4 separate regions of the Homo sapiens genome follow, and all the other regions are linked to region 3. The links are contacts of gene promoters, found by promoter capture Hi-C in blood cells and fetal thymus (Javierre and others, 2016). All regions are on one chromosome and are shown on one strand. Each heading gives the region's core, a stretch centred on a gene start or on the middle of the fragment in contact. The rest is flanking DNA. Distances are from core to core; before and after follow the strand shown. Region 1 holds the start of PIP (prolactin induced protein). Region 2 has its middle 24 kb from the start of PIP. Region 3 holds the start of OR9A2 (olfactory receptor family 9 subfamily A member 2). Region 4 has its middle 16 kb from the start of PIP.

Region 1 (4,060 bases), core at 787-3,286, 100 kb before region 3:
AGACTATTATTCTAAGTGAAGTAACTCAGTAATGGAAAACCAAACATCGTATGTTCTCACTGATATGTGGGAGCTAAGCTTTGAGGACTCAAAAGCATAAGAATGATACAATGGACTTTGGGGACTTGCGGGGAAGAGTGGGAGAGGGGTGAGGGCTAAAAGACTACAAATATGGTGCAGTGTATACTGCTCGGGTGATGGGTGCACCAAAATCTCATCACCACTAAAGAACTTACTCATGTAACCAAATACCACTTGTACCCCAGTAACTTATGGAAAAATAAAATAAAATAATAAAAAATTTTAAAAACCCAGCAAACATCTCAATGCACTGGAGGTATTTGTAGGAGCATCTTTGAAGATCCTCCTTCTGTGGTCCCCAGGTAGGGTTTAGGAATTTGTATTTATTTAGCTCCTTAGGAAATTTGGACATATGGCCATGTTTGGGAACTTTAGATACTACTCTACATTTAGACCATACACTGCAATCTGAAAAGGAAAGGAAATGGAGACAAATAAAATGGTCAAATGTTCTTCTTCAGTCAATGAGGACTGGGTTCGGGGCCAGGAGAGTTATTTTCTCGTCCCTAGAAACTCCCGGCTACGGACCTTTGTTATTGTGTGGGACAGAAGGGAATTGAGATTCTTAGCCCACAGTGTCTCACAGCCCCATTTTCTTGGGGCAAAGCATCTTAGAGAGATTCTATTTTTTGGTGCCAACTGCTGTAGTGCCCAGTGCACAGGAAAAGGGTATAAATACCTAAGCAACTTCAAAATCTCTCCCATTTGTATATGAGTTTCAGATTGATAGGATGACCAGCTTAGTTCGAGTGACTAACCATCTCAGTTTACCCAGGACTGAGGTCTTTTCCAGAATGGGTTGTGGAGGTGGCGGGGGAGGGCAGAGTTGCAGTGCTACAACCAGGAAAGTTCTGGGCAAATCAGGATGGATGGTTGATAACCTAATTAGCATAGCTTATTTGAATACCTTGCTGCCCTTCAGGGCTAAGTGGACTGTCATCTGGCGGGAATGGGGTGGGATCTGAACCTGTCCCCATGCAGGGTTTCTTGGGACACTTGCCTCCATTACATTAGCTTGTCAAAACCCTGAACAGTTTCCTCCAGGACAGGATATCTGACCATGCCATAGAGAGTACCTCCAAGATCACAACCCAGAAACCCAGCATTATAAACCCTACTGCTATAGAGAAAACTCCCTAGATTGGGTATCGCTGCTTTCTCCCAGACCCTTGGCTCCATTTTCTACTTTATTTTACTTGCTCCAATTTTTCTGCTTCCTTCACACATGTGTTCTCAATAAGTTGACTTCTGAACCTGTGCTCTCAGGTCCCAGTATACGTGAGAGCAAGAGGTCATCATATTCATCTTCAGACTTCAGGTTAGGAAGAATGTCTAAGCTGCCAGTCTAGCTCAATCTCAGACCACAGGGCAGTGGCCAGGGCCTCTGGTCCTTTAGCCAGTCCTGCCAAAGCTGCCCTAAGCTGCCATTGGAATTCACAGACCTGTTATGCTTCTCTTCTAGGAGGCAAGGTGTGAGAAGGTAAAGTTTACTGAGCAGAAATCTGAACAAAGGTATAAATTATGAACAAGATGTGGATCAGCATGTTAGATGAAGACTAACTACTAATTACAGCCTGTAGGTACATTTGGAGCTTTATTTCCACTGGCAATGCAGAAACACCCAGCAAAAATGTGAGAGGAGTTGGTGGGGCTTCCTAAGAGGACAAGAAGTGGAACCTGGCAGGAGATCCATGGGAGCTCCTGGGACTAGAGTTCTGGGAAGTTGAAAGAAATTCTCAGAAAGAGATATGTAATTTCCAGACTGGGAGAGGAGCCCTCCCTGCAATTTTTTTTGTGGGGAGGAGAAGGGCATGGCTCACGTGTTGTCCTGAGCTTTGTTGGCCCCCAACTGCAGGCAGAGAACCAGGAGCAGGGTGGCAGGGCTGGCCCTGAACAGGAGCTGGAGCAAGCGCATGCTGGAGAAAACAGAAGGCAATGTGTCCCAGAGAAGTGGTGTCCCAGGTGCCCAGCACATTTCTTATATACAGATTGATCAAGGAAGTGCAAGAGCTGCCAGGGAGATCCATGAGGTGAATCACCCATTCACCCTCCCCACTCGTGATCTTTCCTTGTTGACCCAAAGTTTGTTTTTCTAAGAAAAAATCAACACTCAGCTAGAATGTCAGCGTTTGAGAGAGGAGTCAGATTGTTCTTCCTTATTTTTTCAGCATCAGAGTTTCTCAAAATGGCTGGGACCTCAAAAGATACACCAGTTTTTCCCGAGTTTACAGATTCAGTTTTCTTTTCCCTCCTAATTTGCCTGTCTGAAGTGCTATGTGTAGTCTTAGCTTCAGTCACTGCTCCCCTGGTCTCTGAAAGCAGAGAACACAGCTGTGGTGGCAGGTTTCAGACCAGAGACATAGAACATCTTTGCTTGATCAAATTATAGTGAGTTCAAGATGCAATGCTATTCAAAACATTTCTTGGAGGGCTAGGATGATCAGGACTTCCCTAGCAGTCACTACCCATCATGAGGTGGAAGAGCTAGAGAAGACCTGAGCTGCTCTACATGATGGGGAAGTGAGTTCAAGACACTGGGTGATGTAAAGATGTTTATTGTCATTGAGTCCTTCTTAATTTCAGGTGTGGTTGCAATATACTGCAGATGTCCAAGATCCCCAGCTGCCCCACAATCCCCAAGGCAGGGTGATATTTTAATTCTAGACAATTCCTATAAATAGCTGGCACCCCCAAATCAGACTTCTTGGCACCAAAGAGCTGGCTTATTTTCTTATTGACATGGCCACTTTCTTACACTTGTCTCATGCGTAAGCCACACAGGAAGAACCACAGTGGAAAGGATTCCTTCTGTGAGAATGGAGCCCACATTATGTCCAGTAGATACCCAGGTTGTAGAATTCCTCTCCTTGGGATGATGGGGAGACTTGCTCTTGCTGACACTGGCATTGTGTTATTTCTCCTTATGAAATTAAATCTGCTCCTTAACCTATGACTTACAATACTATGGGATTTGTTTCTATCATTTGCATGGCACACAGCTGCCCAGGAAGAGCCTCTCTGGCAACAGAGTGAAAATCAGAGTTCTAGGAGTTACCGCCTCTGTATGTTGCTTTAGCCAGGATTCAGAGCTAAAGTGTAAGTGTGTGCTTCTGCTTTCTGGATGTATCTCTCAAAATTGCTCTGTCTGTTTATTCAGCTCCTGGATCTACCTTCTCTTTTCTTTGAATTGGACACCATTCATGTCATTGCTCACTCAGAACTTCAGCTGTTCTCATGATCACATGCTTTCTTCCCTGTTTATGTCCTATCCACTCAAGAACACTGCTTGTGAGGGTCACAATGACCTTCCTTTGTAAGCCTTTTCCCACAATTAAATTGTCTTTACACCTGGTCCTTCTCACTTGCATAATTTCCATTTGAAGCACATCCTAGCTACACTGACCAAGGCAGGCATAAGGCAGAAGAATCTAGGAAGTGTCTGTGTGGGAAAATGCAGGAAAAGTTCTTTGCTTGGCTCTTTGAAGGCATAGCCCTGTCCTTGAGGATGCAACTCCAGCACTCCCAAAAGGCAGTGTCCAGAGGAAGGCAGATGACGATGGGTTAAGAGCATCTATTGAAGGTAATGAGGCTGTTCTTCTGTGAGCTAGCAGGAAACTGCAATACCTACAATGTACAGGACAATCTTTTTTTTTTGAGACAGAATCTCACTCATCCAGGCTGGAGTGCAGTGGCATGATCTCAGCTCACTGCAGCCTCCACCTCCCGGGTTCAGGAAATTCTCATGCCTCAGCCACCCGAGTAGTGGGGATTATAGGCAGGTGCCACCATACCCGGCTAATTTTTGTATTTTTGGTAGAGATGGGGTTTCACCATGTTGGCCAAGCTGATCTTACATTCCTGACCTCAAGTGATCCACCTGCCTCGGCCTCCCAAATTGCTGGGATTACAGGTGTGAGCCACTGTGCCTGGCCTAGGACAAGTCTTATTCAGGCCATGACTGCTGTGATGGTTACTTTTA
Region 2 (4,260 bases), core at 510-3,009, 81 kb before region 3:
GGGTGGTGAAAATTTTGGGGGGTAGTATGGAGAGATAATGGGTGATGTTTCTCAGGGCTGCTTCCAGCGGGATTAGGGGTGGCATGGGAACCTACAGTAGGAGAGATTAAACTGAAGAAAGGCTTTGGGGTAAGGGGTGATATTGTGGGGTTGTTAGAAGGAGCGTTTGTCCTATAGAATTATTGGTGATGGCCTGGATGCAGTTTTGTATGAATTGAGAAACTAAACAGAAGACACAAGGCACGAATAAAAGAAGGAGAAAAGTAGGTATTAAAGGATTAAGAATTGGGAGTACCCAGGACATCCAATTAGAGAGTGTCCAGAGGGGTTCAGTGTTAATTATTTGCTTGGTTGGCAAGTTTTTGGGCTCTATCCTTGAGTTTTTTGATACTGTTTACCAGGCCAGACTGATTTAGGTAAAAACAACACTCTTCATTTAAAAATATACAGAGTCCCCCTTTTTTTTTAGCAGTGAGTAAGTCAGGGCCTTGGCGAGTTTTGAGGAAAGAGAAATGCAAAGCCAGCAATTGTTTGTTAAAGAAGGATTAGAAACGGGTAGGAGAGAGTGAGTGAGATTGATAGTGTGGTGGAGATAGCTGGGGAGAGGTAGAGGGTGGCATAAGAACAGGAACGAGAATAAGAGTGAGTATAAAAGTAAAGAATAGGACTTCATCAGGGTGAAAGTATTGGAGTGTGTCCTGTCAGCAAAGATTGTCTGTGCACTCCAAGAGGCAGTCAAGAGTGGCGGGTTGGGGATAAATTTTCATGATGGAAAGGAAACGAGAGGTTTTAAGAGGTGGGCTAACAGCTTGTAACCTACATGGAAGAGGTTATGAAATGACGACAGAATAGAATGGGCCTGTGAGGCTGGAAGGAGATTTTTTTTTGGTCTAAGAACCATCTGCCTTGAGTGGAGAGGGATTGATAGGTGGAAACTTCAGTAAGAGAGTAAATAGGCATGACCAATGAGATGGAGAAAAACTGGCTATGAGGGACAGAAGTTGGAACACTAGCTGCTTCTTTAGCTACCTTATCAGCATAAGCATTGCCCTGAGTGATGGGATCTGATGCCTTTTTGATGGCCCTTGCAGTGAATGACTCCAGCTTCCTTGGAAGTAAAGCAGCTTTAAGAAGAGTTTTTATTAAGGAGGCATTAATGATGGAGGACACTTGTGTAGTGAGGAAATTTCCTTCTGCCCATATAACAGCATGGTGGTGCAGGATATGGAAGGCATATTTAGAGTCAGTATAAACATTGATGCGTAGTCCCTTTGCAAGAGTGAAGGCCTGAGTTAAGGCAATGAGTTCAACTTGCTGAGAGGTAGTGGAGAGGGGCAGAGCAGTAACCTCAGTGATAGATGTGGAAGACACTATAGCACACCCTGCCTTTGCTGGTGAGTGGCGATTAGGCCTGGTGGAATTGCCATCAATAAACCAAGTGTGATCAGTGTGAGGAACAGGAAAGAAGGAAATATGGGGAAATGGAGTGAATGTCAGGTGGATCAGAGAGATACAGTCATGGGGATCAGGTGTGGCATCTGGGATAATGTGGGAGGCCAGATTGAACTCTGGGCCAGGAACAATGGTAATTGTAGGAGACTCAACAAGAGTGAGTATAGCTGAAGGAGCTGGGGGGCAGAAAGTATATGTGTCAAGTGTGAGGAGGAAAATAGATTTTGAAAGTTATGGGAACTGTAGAGAGTAAGTGGAGTATAGCTTGTGATTTTGAGGGGCTTTAAAAGTATTAAAGCAGCGGCAGCCACTTCACGCAGACATGAGGGCTAGGCTAAAACAGTAAAGTCAAGTTGTTTGGACAGAAAGGCTACAGGGCACAGTCCCAGCTCTTGTGTAAGAATTCTGACTGCGCAGCCCTGTACTTTGGCTGTGTGTAATGAAAAGGGTTGGGATGAATTAAGGAGAGCTAGTGTGGGAGCAGCTTTTAGGGCTGTTTTTTAAGGAATGGAAAGGGGAGTGGGGAAAGGATTTAGGATTTATGGGGTCAGCTAGGTTTATCTAGAACAGAATAATGGGTTGTAGAGGGAGGTATTGAGGATAGGAGAGTATATGTATTTGGCACCACAGGGTGGATAGGCAAGACAGTTTGGTTGATAAGGCGCAGATCCTGAACTAACCTGTAAGACTTGTCTGGTTTTTGGATAGGTAAAATGGGGGAATTGTAAGGAGAGTTTATAGGCTTTAGAAGCCCATGCTGTAGCAGGAGAGTGATAACAGGCTTTAATCTTTTTAAAGTGTGCTGTGGGATGGGATATTGGCATTGAGCAGGGTAAGGGTGATTACGTTTTAATGGGATGGTAAGGTGTGCATGATCAGTCACGAAGGAGGGAGTAGAGGTGTCCTATACTTGTGGATTAAGGTGGGGAGATACAAGGGGAGGATGTGAAGGAGGCTTTGAACTGAGGAAAAAGGTGGCAATGAGGTGTGGCTGTAGCCTAGGAATAGTCAGGGAAGCAGATAATTTAGTTAAAATGTTTCGACCTAATAAGGGAGCTGGGCAGGTAGGGATAACTAAAAAGGATTGTATAAAAGAACATTGTCCAAGTTGGCACCAGAGTTGGGGAGTTTTAAAAGGTTTAAAGCCTCTTGTCAATACTCACAACAGTTATGGAGGCAAGGGAAACATGCCCTTGAAAAGAAGGTAATGTGGAGTGGGTAGCCTCCATATTGATTAAGAAGGGGACAGACTTACCCTCCACTGTAAGAGTTACCCAAAGCATCTGTGATGGTCCTGTAGGCTTCCAAGGTGATTGGGCAGCATCAGTCTTCAGCCACTAAGCCGAGATCTGGGAAGGAGTCAATCAGAGATCCTTGGGCCAGAGTTCTAGGGGCTCTGGGAATGGCTGCTGGGTGAGTTGGACAGTCTGATTTCCAGTGGGGTCCTGCACAGATGGGACACAGCTTAGGAGGAGTCCTGGGCTGCAGGCATTCCTTGGCCCAGTGGCCAGATTTCCGGCACTTGAAGCAAGATCCTGGGGGAGGTGGTCCTGGAGGAATGCCTTGCCCCTGCGGTTTAGGCATTTTGAAGTTCTTGTGTGCTGGAGATGTGGCTGGGTTTCTCTCACAGTGGAGGCAAGTAATTGCAACTCTTCTCTATTATTGTACCCCTTGAAGGTGAGATCAATTAAGTGCTGTTGTGGGGTTGAGGGCCAGAATCTAATTTTTGGAGCTTTTTCTAATGTCGGGAGTGGGTTGGGTAGTAAAATGCATATTGAGAATAAGACAGACTTCAGGCCCCTCTGTGTCTAGGGTGGTAAAGTGTCTAAGGCTTGTTGCCAAATGGGCCATGGACTGGGCTGGGTTTTCATATTTGATGAAAAAGAGCCTAAATGCTAACTGATTTGGGAGAGGTCGGATAAAGAAAAAGGAGCATTAACCTTGGCTATGCCTTCAGCTTCAGCCACTCTCTAAGAGGAAATTGTTGGGCAGGTCGGGGAGGGCTAGTCATGGAATGAAGCTGTAAGCCAGACTGGGTGTGAGGAGGGGAGGTAATAGAAGGGTTATAGGGTGAGGGAGCGGAGGCTGAAAAAGAGTTGGGACCTGGCTTGGCCTGGCAAGGAGCAGCCTGGGGAGGAGGGGAAAGGTCAGATGGGTCTGTAGAAAAGGAGGATTCACAGGACTCAGAGCTTGGGGTGGAGACTGAAGGAACAGACAGGAGAGAAAGAAGAAAGATTTGGGACGAGTCGCATTGGGAACAGAGACTAGGGAGGGACCAATGTGTAAAAGAATGCCTGGCTGCCTGTACGCCAGGCACCTCAGACCATTTGCCCATTTTTCAACAAAAATTATCTAGATATTGTAAAATGGAGAAATCAAAAGTGCCATTTTCTGGCTATTTAGAACCATTATTGAGTTCTTATTGGGGTCAAGTGGTATTGCAGAAGAAAATAAGGCATTTAGGTTTTAGGTCAGGTGTGAGTTGAAGAGGCTTTAAGTTCTTGAGAACACAGGCTAAGGGAGAAGAAGGGGGAATGGAGGGCAGAAGTTTGCCCATAGTGAAGGAGGTAAGTTTAAAGAGAAAGGTAGAGAGATGGAGAAGGGGGTGGTGAGCAGCCCTGGGCTGCAATATGGGTGAGCAGCCAAAGCAGATGTCCCCACAATTGACTTGCCACCAAGGGAATGTGGGTGAATGACCAAGGCAGGTGTCCCCACAGTGATCAAACACCAATGGAGTGTGGGTAAATAATCAGGCAGGTGTCCCCAAAGTGATTAAACACCAAGGGAAGACTGTCTTCCCAAGTCTGT
Region 3 (4,118 bases), core at 1,143-3,642:
GTAGTAACTCGGTGATTAAGTACCCTTGGGAAGAAGGGAAGAGGGAGGAGAGGGGAGAGAGAGAGGACCCTCAACTTTGCCCAACACTCATTTCTGGGCTTTTTCCTAAGCTCCTCTGGGAGGACATTTCCCTTCTTCGCCATGAGTGGGGATTGCAGCAACTTGTTCTGGCCCCTGTGCATGGCTCAGCACTAGCAGGACAGGAGGTAGCCTCAGCGGAGCCCTAGAGAACATCAGAAGAGGCGGCGAAGCCCCTCTGTAAAGGTGAGTGTCTTTCCAAGGGGTCTCCTCTATGAAGAAGAGGGTAAAAGCATTTTAGGATGGGACATCCTGGGCCTGCCTATCTTCTAGAACAAAGTCACCCAGATATTGAAGTGTGGGCTAGGGGAGCAGTAGAGTGTATAGGCTCATCTCCAGACCCTTCCTGCATAGCAGAGAGCACTTCCGGCTCCTCTTGGACCCAATGCTAACACAGTCACGGCTCCCTGACAGTCGGTGTCCTTCTCGCTCATGTTTCTTCATCTCGTGCTGGTTATGCAGAGGTTGTGGAAAACCAGAACACTGAGCTTTCCCATCAATTCTGTCCCTGAAGCTTTTTAAACCATTAGTAAAACAGTGACGTAGACAGGGAAGGGGTTACCTAAGCAAGGGAAGGGCAGGAGGGAAAATGGTAATGTGAGGCAGGAAGGAAAACCAACCAGAATAGGATTGAGGGAATGTGGCCCAGGCCCTGGCCAGAACAAGTATTATTTAATCATATATTATCCATCCATCCATCCATACCTCATCTAGCAAAATTTGTCAGCACTACTTATTTTATGTATATGATACATATATCTTATGTATTTAAATATCTTATAAATAAAAAATATATGTATATTTTATATAATATAAGATATATTTCATATATCTTATTTCATATATCTTATATAAATAAGATAAATAATATAAGATAATAATATAATATAAGGTGTGGTAGTTAGCTGTGTGAGTGATGAAATCTGACAGACCTAGGTTCAAATCTTGACTCACACAGCTATTAGTTCGGTTACCTTGTGATAAATTAATACATAATTTAATATATAAGATATATCTATGATATATTCATTTCACATAATGTATCTGTCTATATCTATATAAAAGATATATGATATATATATATAAAATATATAACTACTTAATTTATGTATGTACATTTTATGTGCCAGCCTCAGAATACAACAGTGAAGACATGTCCTAGCCCTCATGGAGTTTATATTCTAATGCCGTTGATAAATAATAAATACACTTAAATTTCCTCTCCTTCTTTCTTGCTTATTTTTTTCCCTGTGACATGATAAGCAAACTAAACTATTGCATATTTTACTTAGGTGTCTTGTGTGTGGTCTAGCCCCCACCTCTTCCTTGAATATAAGCTCCACAGGGCATGGAATTTTCTTTGTTCTGTTCATGACTACATTTGTTTATTGTTAAATAAAGGAATGAAGTAAATAATTAGACATAATACAAGGTAATAACAACTGTTATTAAAAAAATGGAAGTCCAATAATAAGTGTGTCTTTTCTGTTTTGGGCAGAGTGATTGGAAAGAGTCTTTGGAAAGGGTGACATTTGAATAATGGAATGAAGCGACAGGCAGAGAGCCAGGCATCCTTAACAGCTGGCGGTCCCAGATCTATTCCTTTTCTGTGCCAGGTGCCATCTTTCCTTCCTCCCACAACTTTGGAAGGAAAATGGAATTAGAGAAGAATGGATCTGTTCTGGGAAATTATCCCAAGCTCTAGAGTTCTCATTTAGAGATCTTGCTGTTCTGTAAAATGGAGATTTTAAAATCTGGAACAGCAGAGATGTTAGTCTTACATCCTCTGCCTCCTTTCTGCTGGCCCCAAAGGTGGGTCTATGCATTACCATTACAGATGAGAGCTGGGGTTTAAAATTCTGTCCTTTGAACATCATATAAAATGCCTTTGTGTCATCTTGCACAGTTAACCTAAGAGAAAGTAACTCCAGGACCGGAGGGACCTGATTGACTCACCTTTAAAACTGGCCTATTTAAAAGGTCTTAGCCTCTGCCCCCGAGAGAAGGTATATTTAATGGGGAAAAAGGCAAGGAAGGTATTTCACCACCAGTAGAAGAAGATGTCTTCACCCATTCTAGGGGGCTGGTTACACAGGGAAGTGAGAGCCTCACTTGTAGACTTGGGATGACAACATGTACCTCAAGCTATGTATGTGCCGACCACAGTAGCAGGGACATGTCACCTGATTCTCAGGTTGGAAATAGTTTCTTAACCTAATTTTTCTTCCTTCTCTCTTGAGAGCAGGACCATGTGGAGCAATGCCACCTCTCTTTTAATCTCTGGGCTTCAAAACAAGCAGAATCAAGGACTAAATGATGGACAACCACTCTAGTGCCACTGAATTCCACCTTCTAGGCTTCCCTGGGTCCCAAGGACTACACCACATTCTTTTTGCTATATTCTTTTTCTTCTATTTAGTGACATTAATGGGAAACACGGTCATCATTGTGATTGTCTGTGTGGATAAACGTCTGCAGTCCCCCATGTATTTCTTCCTCAGCCACCTCTCTACCCTGGAGATCCTGGTCACAACCATAATTGTCCCCATGATGCTTTGGGGATTGCTCTTCCTGGGATGCAGACAGTATCTTTCTCTACATGTATCGCTCAACTTTTCCTGTGGGACCATGGAGTTTGCATTACTTGGAGTGATGGCTGTGGACCGTTATGTGGCTGTGTGTAACCCTTTGAGGTACAACATCATTATGAACAGCAGTACCTGTATTTGGGTGGTAATAGTGTCATGGGTGTTTGGATTTCTTTCTGAAATCTGGCCCATCTATGCCACATTTCAGTTTACCTTCCGCAAATCAAATTCATTAGACCATTTTTACTGTGACCGAGGGCAATTGCTCAAACTGTCCTGCGATAACACTCTTCTCACAGAGTTTATCCTTTTCTTAATGGCTGTTTTTATTCTCATTGGTTCTTTGATCCCTACGATTGTCTCCTACACCTACATTATCTCCACCATCCTCAAGATCCCGTCAGCCTCTGGCCGGAGGAAAGCCTTCTCCACTTTTGCCTCCCACTTCACCTGTGTTGTGATTGGCTATGGCAGCTGCTTGTTTCTCTACGTGAAACCCAAGCAAACACAGGGAGTTGAGTACAATAAGATAGTTTCCCTGTTGGTTTCTGTGTTAACCCCCTTCCTGAATCCTTTCATCTTTACTCTTCGGAATGACAAAGTCAAAGAGGCCCTCCGAGATGGGATGAAACGCTGCTGTCAACTCCTGAAAGATTAGCTGTTCTGTAAGTCAGTTTTAGGTGGTCCAAGCCTCAGGGTTAATTATTAAGTCACCTAGAAAATTCTAACTCCTCTTTTCTCTTATCCTCTCATTACAAAAGTCAAAGAGTGTGTACAATTCGCCATCACACCATGGAAGTAGATTAGGCTGGTAATAATGAAATCCATTGTCTGTCCAGGAGACTCTCATAGCCTTAGTTCCTGCCTGTTTCCACTGTTGAACATATTCTTGTGATTTGGGGGGGACTAGAGAAAGGAAATGCAGACATTTTTGTAAGAATTCTATTAGCCCAACTCATTTCCTCATAGTCCATCTCTGAAAATGTATTTTCTGGGGAAGGGAGGAAGTGTGGAGGGAGGTGTACTGAGAAAGGTGTCCTAATCAGAGTAGAAAGGTAGAGATGCTCACTTTGGTCCTTCATCACCTGTTGCTAAGTTCTTCCCTATATTTTTGTGCAATTTTTTGGCAAGATGGCCATATGCATTTTAGATATCCTAAAGCTCTTTCTCTCTGCCCCATTGATACTGGAAAGGAAGTGTAACACTGTTTACGTTTTGTCACAGAACCAGTCTAGAATGGCGATATGAGGATTGGAATGCTTCTCATTCAGGAGATATTTGTGGTGTAAAGAAGATAAAAATATTTGAGGATAAAAATGGAGGAAAATTTATTTTTGTTAAGCTTCAGCATATTCCTTTCACTGCCCTTCTTTGTGGTGAGTATAGGGACAGGGGCAAATAAGAACTAAATGACTAATTCTAGAGAGCATCCTGTATTTTATGGCTGTTAAA
Region 4 (3,927 bases), core at 103-2,602, 120 kb before region 3:
TGGTGTCTATGTGCCACATTTTCTTTATCCAATCCACCATCAATGGGCGCTTAGTTGATTCCATGTCTTTAATATTGTGAATAGCATGGTGGTGAACATATCAAGTGGCCATTTGGTGTAATGGTCTATTTTCCTTTCGGTATGTACCCAGTAATGGGATTGCTGGGTTGAATGGTGGCTCAATTTTAAGTTCTTTGAGAAATCTTCAAACTGCTTTTCAAAGTGGCTGAACCAATTTACATTCCCATGAAAAGTGTGTAAACATTCCCTTTTCTCTGCAGCTTCACTAGCTTCTGTTATTTTTTGACTTTTTAGTAGTAGCCATTCTTACTGGTGTAAGATGGTATCTCATTGTGGTTTTGATTTGTGTTTCTCTGTCCATCTTTCTTTTCATCTGCATTTGGATTGCTTTCCTCTCATTTCTTTTTTTTCCTCTTCCTAATCTCCCCACTGCTACCCTCCCCTCATGAATTAGAGTCCTGACCCTATGGTTAAAAGCCTCCACTCATTCATCTTTTTCATAACACAATTTCTTCAACTTCAAAATGGAATTGATAACATGTACATTCCTAACAGAGTTGTTCTGAGGTTCAAGGCTAATGTACACAAAATCATGTGTAGGTGAAGCATTTGGCAAGATGTTAAACTGTTTCACATACAATCAGTAATGACGACCAATGTTCTTTATTGTGATATTTCTCTTCTCTTTCCCACCAACCTTCCCTCCAATTCTTCAGTTACCTCCACATATTTATACCTATTGTTATTTGTAACCATGAGTGTTAGCAAAAATATTTCCTCTGGCTTTACAGATTCAGGGATTGTCATGCTCAGAAAAATTATGTTCTGTCTGTATATGCCAAAAGAAGGAGAAACCCAAAGTCAGGGAAAGTGTAGGACAGGGGTGTCCCAGGAGGGAGAATGGAAGCAGGAGGACAGAGTGAACAGAGGGGTGCAGGGAGTGAGGAAGCACATAAGTCAATGCTGTCACTCATAAGGATCCTCTGTGCATGACTTGTGCCTGTGGGCTCTGTGTGTCCAGCCAAGATGCCCCTATCTGATAGGAAGGGGAAATGGAGGCCAGAGGAAAAGAGGTCATATTCCTGGTGGACTGATGAGGGCAGGGAGCCAGACTGAGGGACTGCTTTTCCTTCATCATGGATACTCAGTTGAATCTCCACCATGTTGTTTGAAGCAGGAAGTGATTTGGTTGCATGGTCTACTTTAGCCTGAGATTCTCCTTTTGATTTTTCTTATGGAATCATCCCCAAATCCATGAAAGTTCATTTTCTTATACTGGTATAACTAGTAGAAGGATAAGAAATTCTATGAGTCTGATAAACATATCACACCAATGAATTAAAGTTTAACATAATGATCAACATAGTTCAACTTTGTCCAACTCACTAAGTAGAGGGGAAACTAAGTAGAAGTTTAGTCAACCAAAACCCAGCACACACACATTTTGTGTTACTCCATATATCCACCCCCACATCCTCTTTGCTTCTCTTCTCCTTAGAGAAACATCCAGGCTTGGCAAGAACCCCTTCTTCACCAAAATCTCCATGGCTCCATTTCCATCTGCTAGATACTCCTTTCTCCACATTCTGTCTGCTACACGTCCATGTCTCCTAAGGACCTGCTGGCTTCATTCTGGATCTTAGTACTTTGCTCTTGCCAAGGGACAGAGTCCCGTTTCAATGTTCTCCTTTCCACTTAAGGAACTGGAATCTGTCATTTCTTTTCCTCCGTTTTGGCAAATCAGTATAGACCTGGAGACCAGCTGTGTCGCATTTATGCAAGGACATGTTGCATTTAGGAACAAATCCAGGAAAAGGTGGAGTCCAGGAGCATGTTTCTACTTTTTCCTTACTTAGAGAAACCTGCTCAGGTCTTGTAGGTCCCAGCCCCAGTGTATGACACAGATCTTAATGAGATAGAGAGCACTGTTTCCAATGAGACCAATTGTATGAGTTAGTGGTCAGCACAACCTTGTAACCCCAGTAAAGACCAGGGCCATGGCCCCTCTCTTGCAGCTCAGGCATCTTATCCAAAGCTCATCCCACAGGTATTGATTAAGCCCACATCTCTGCCCATGCTTTTCATTTAGGAGAAAATGATGCCAATGATAAACTTAGGATAGAAAAATGAATTAAAATACAAGTAGTAATAAGACATGAATGCAGTAACCCCCACAATAGGATCTGAATAGGAAAAGAGTGAGACTAAGAGACATCTTTAGTGAGAATACCCAGAATGTGTCCCCTTTGGAGTGGTAAAATAATCCCTAGGGGCACCATATTGATTTCTGGGTTGGGAGATGTGTCCCCGTTGGAAGATTTTCTGCAACAAGGAGAAAGTGGTGGCTTACAATTCTTCCTGAGCTATGCTGGTCCCCAGCCTCAGGCAGAGAACCAGGAGCAGGGCAACAAGACAGGGCTTGAACAGAATCTGAAGAGCATGCATGCTGGAGAAATTTGATGCCCAGAGAACTGTGCACCCAGGCACCCAAATTATTCTTCATAACTACAGCAAGAGAACATTGTGACATTTGGGCAGGCCACTCAACCAAAATCATCAGACCTTGAAACTTCCCTAATTACCACCATGAATTTTTTTCTTGGAGAAATGTCAACATTCAGCTGGAATTTTACATTGGAATGGAATGAGGAAAGAATTAGTTCAGTTGTTTTCCCTTGTTTGCCAATATCAGATTAGAATGTTCCTGGAACAGCAGGATGGATTCTGCCTTAACTTTTCTAAACAGCATCTTTTTCACTTCTATTTCCCAATACTTGCTCTGGGTCTGTAGGATCTATGAAATGTATATTCTTATCTTTTTGTCCTCTAGATGACATGGTGTCTTATCTTTCTACCAATGCCAGTTACTTCAACTCTAAATTTTACTCTAGTTGAGTGAATGACTTGACACTAATGTTCCTACTCAGCCCTCCTGGTTTGCATCTTCAGGTACAATGAGTCTTCTGTAAGAAATGATAGCCCTCTATAGAGTATAGAGTATGTTTCATGAGAATTCAAGCCTCAGAAATAGGAAAAAATCAGATGAGAAGAGGGTAGACCAGATATTTTTGGTATCTATTTCTTAAGATACTGTCAGTAAGCAAGACCTTTCTGTGTATTGGCCCCTCTAAGGGGGCTTGGGTTTAAATTATATGTGTGGGAGCTGCAATCCTGAAGCTTCTTAGGAAAGGTCCTGTTGTCCCAGGTCTCCATTTTTCTAGCTTTGGTTACTGCTCAGCCTGCTTCCTCTTGCTGGAAATTCAGATGTTGGGGCAGTTGTCAGAATCCATCTTTGAAGGACCCTGTGATCATCTCTAGTCATCTGCAGGAGAACATGTGGTCTTAAGAACGTCTTAGAAAGCTAAGACGACTAGAGAACCCATGGAATTGCCCACCTAACATCCAAGTGGGAGAACCATATCAGATGGCGAGGTGAAGTCCAAGGGTGGATGAGTTGGGACAGCTGTGCTCTTACCCCTGTAGAGTCTTTCCAGAGAACTAGAGTGCTGAAACTAACAAGGTCCTTGAGATGCCTTAAGGTGACAGCAAGACCAGGGAGGGCTGCTTCCATCCATTCATTTTGAATTTTCTACAAGATTCACCATGCATTGAGAGGGCCAGCTCCCAAATACCAGGTGCTATGCAGCAGGTCTTCTCTTACTTGGATTACTCTGCTATTTATCCCTATGTTTTTCAAACTCATTAAACTAATTTCTCTTCTCCTTTCCTCCCTCCCTTCCTTCCATTCATTTATTACTTATTCAAAAATATTATTATTATTATTTTTGAGACAAAGTCATGCTCTGTCACCTGGGCTAGAGTGCACTGCTGTGCCTGCCACCATGCCTGGCTAATATTTGTTTTTTTAGTAGAGACGGGGTTTCACCATCTTGGCCAGGCTGGTCT

The links. Contacts are between HindIII fragments. The CHiCAGO score rates a contact against its expected background, and 5 or more counts as called.
Region 1: the fragment with the promoter of PIP here is called in contact with the fragment with the promoter of OR9A2 in region 3 in 15 of 17 cell types (total B cells, M2 macrophages, naive B cells and 12 more); the score reaches 18.0 in total B cells.
Region 2: a contact is called between a fragment that was not itself captured here and the fragment with the promoter of OR9A2 in region 3, in 2 of 17 cell types (naive B cells and total B cells). The highest score is 5.2, in naive B cells.
Region 4: a fragment that was not itself captured here is called in contact with the fragment with the promoter of OR9A2 in region 3 in 1 of 17 cell types (total B cells); the score reaches 5.1 in total B cells.

The regions. Positions count from the first base shown.
Region 1 is chr7:143,130,053-143,134,112 of GRCh38, reverse strand. It overlaps PIP (prolactin induced protein), which reads right to left and starts at 2,036. Exons shown (of 4, transcript NM_002652.3): 1 at 1,902-2,036. The coding sequence starts at 1,996. The HindIII fragment of the contact is 4,172 bases long and covers 81-4,060 here.
Region 2 is chr7:143,105,810-143,110,069 of GRCh38, reverse strand. No RefSeq gene overlaps it. Among named protein-coding and RNA genes, the nearest start is that of PIP, 24 kb to the left of the region's middle. The HindIII fragment of the contact is 8,838 bases long and covers 1-4,260 here.
Region 3 is chr7:143,025,406-143,029,523 of GRCh38, reverse strand. It overlaps OR9A2 (olfactory receptor family 9 subfamily A member 2), which reads left to right and starts at 2,392. Exons shown (of 1, transcript NM_001001658.1): 1 at 2,392-3,324. The coding sequence starts at 2,392. The coding sequence ends at 3,324. LOC105375544 (a long non-coding RNA gene) reads left to right here. Exons shown (of 2, transcript XR_001745395.1): 2 at 1-264. The HindIII fragment of the contact is 3,416 bases long and covers 595-4,010 here.
Region 4 is chr7:143,145,990-143,149,916 of GRCh38, reverse strand. No RefSeq gene overlaps it. Among named protein-coding and RNA genes, the nearest start is that of PIP, 16 kb to the right of the region's middle. The HindIII fragment of the contact is 3,696 bases long and covers 1-3,200 here.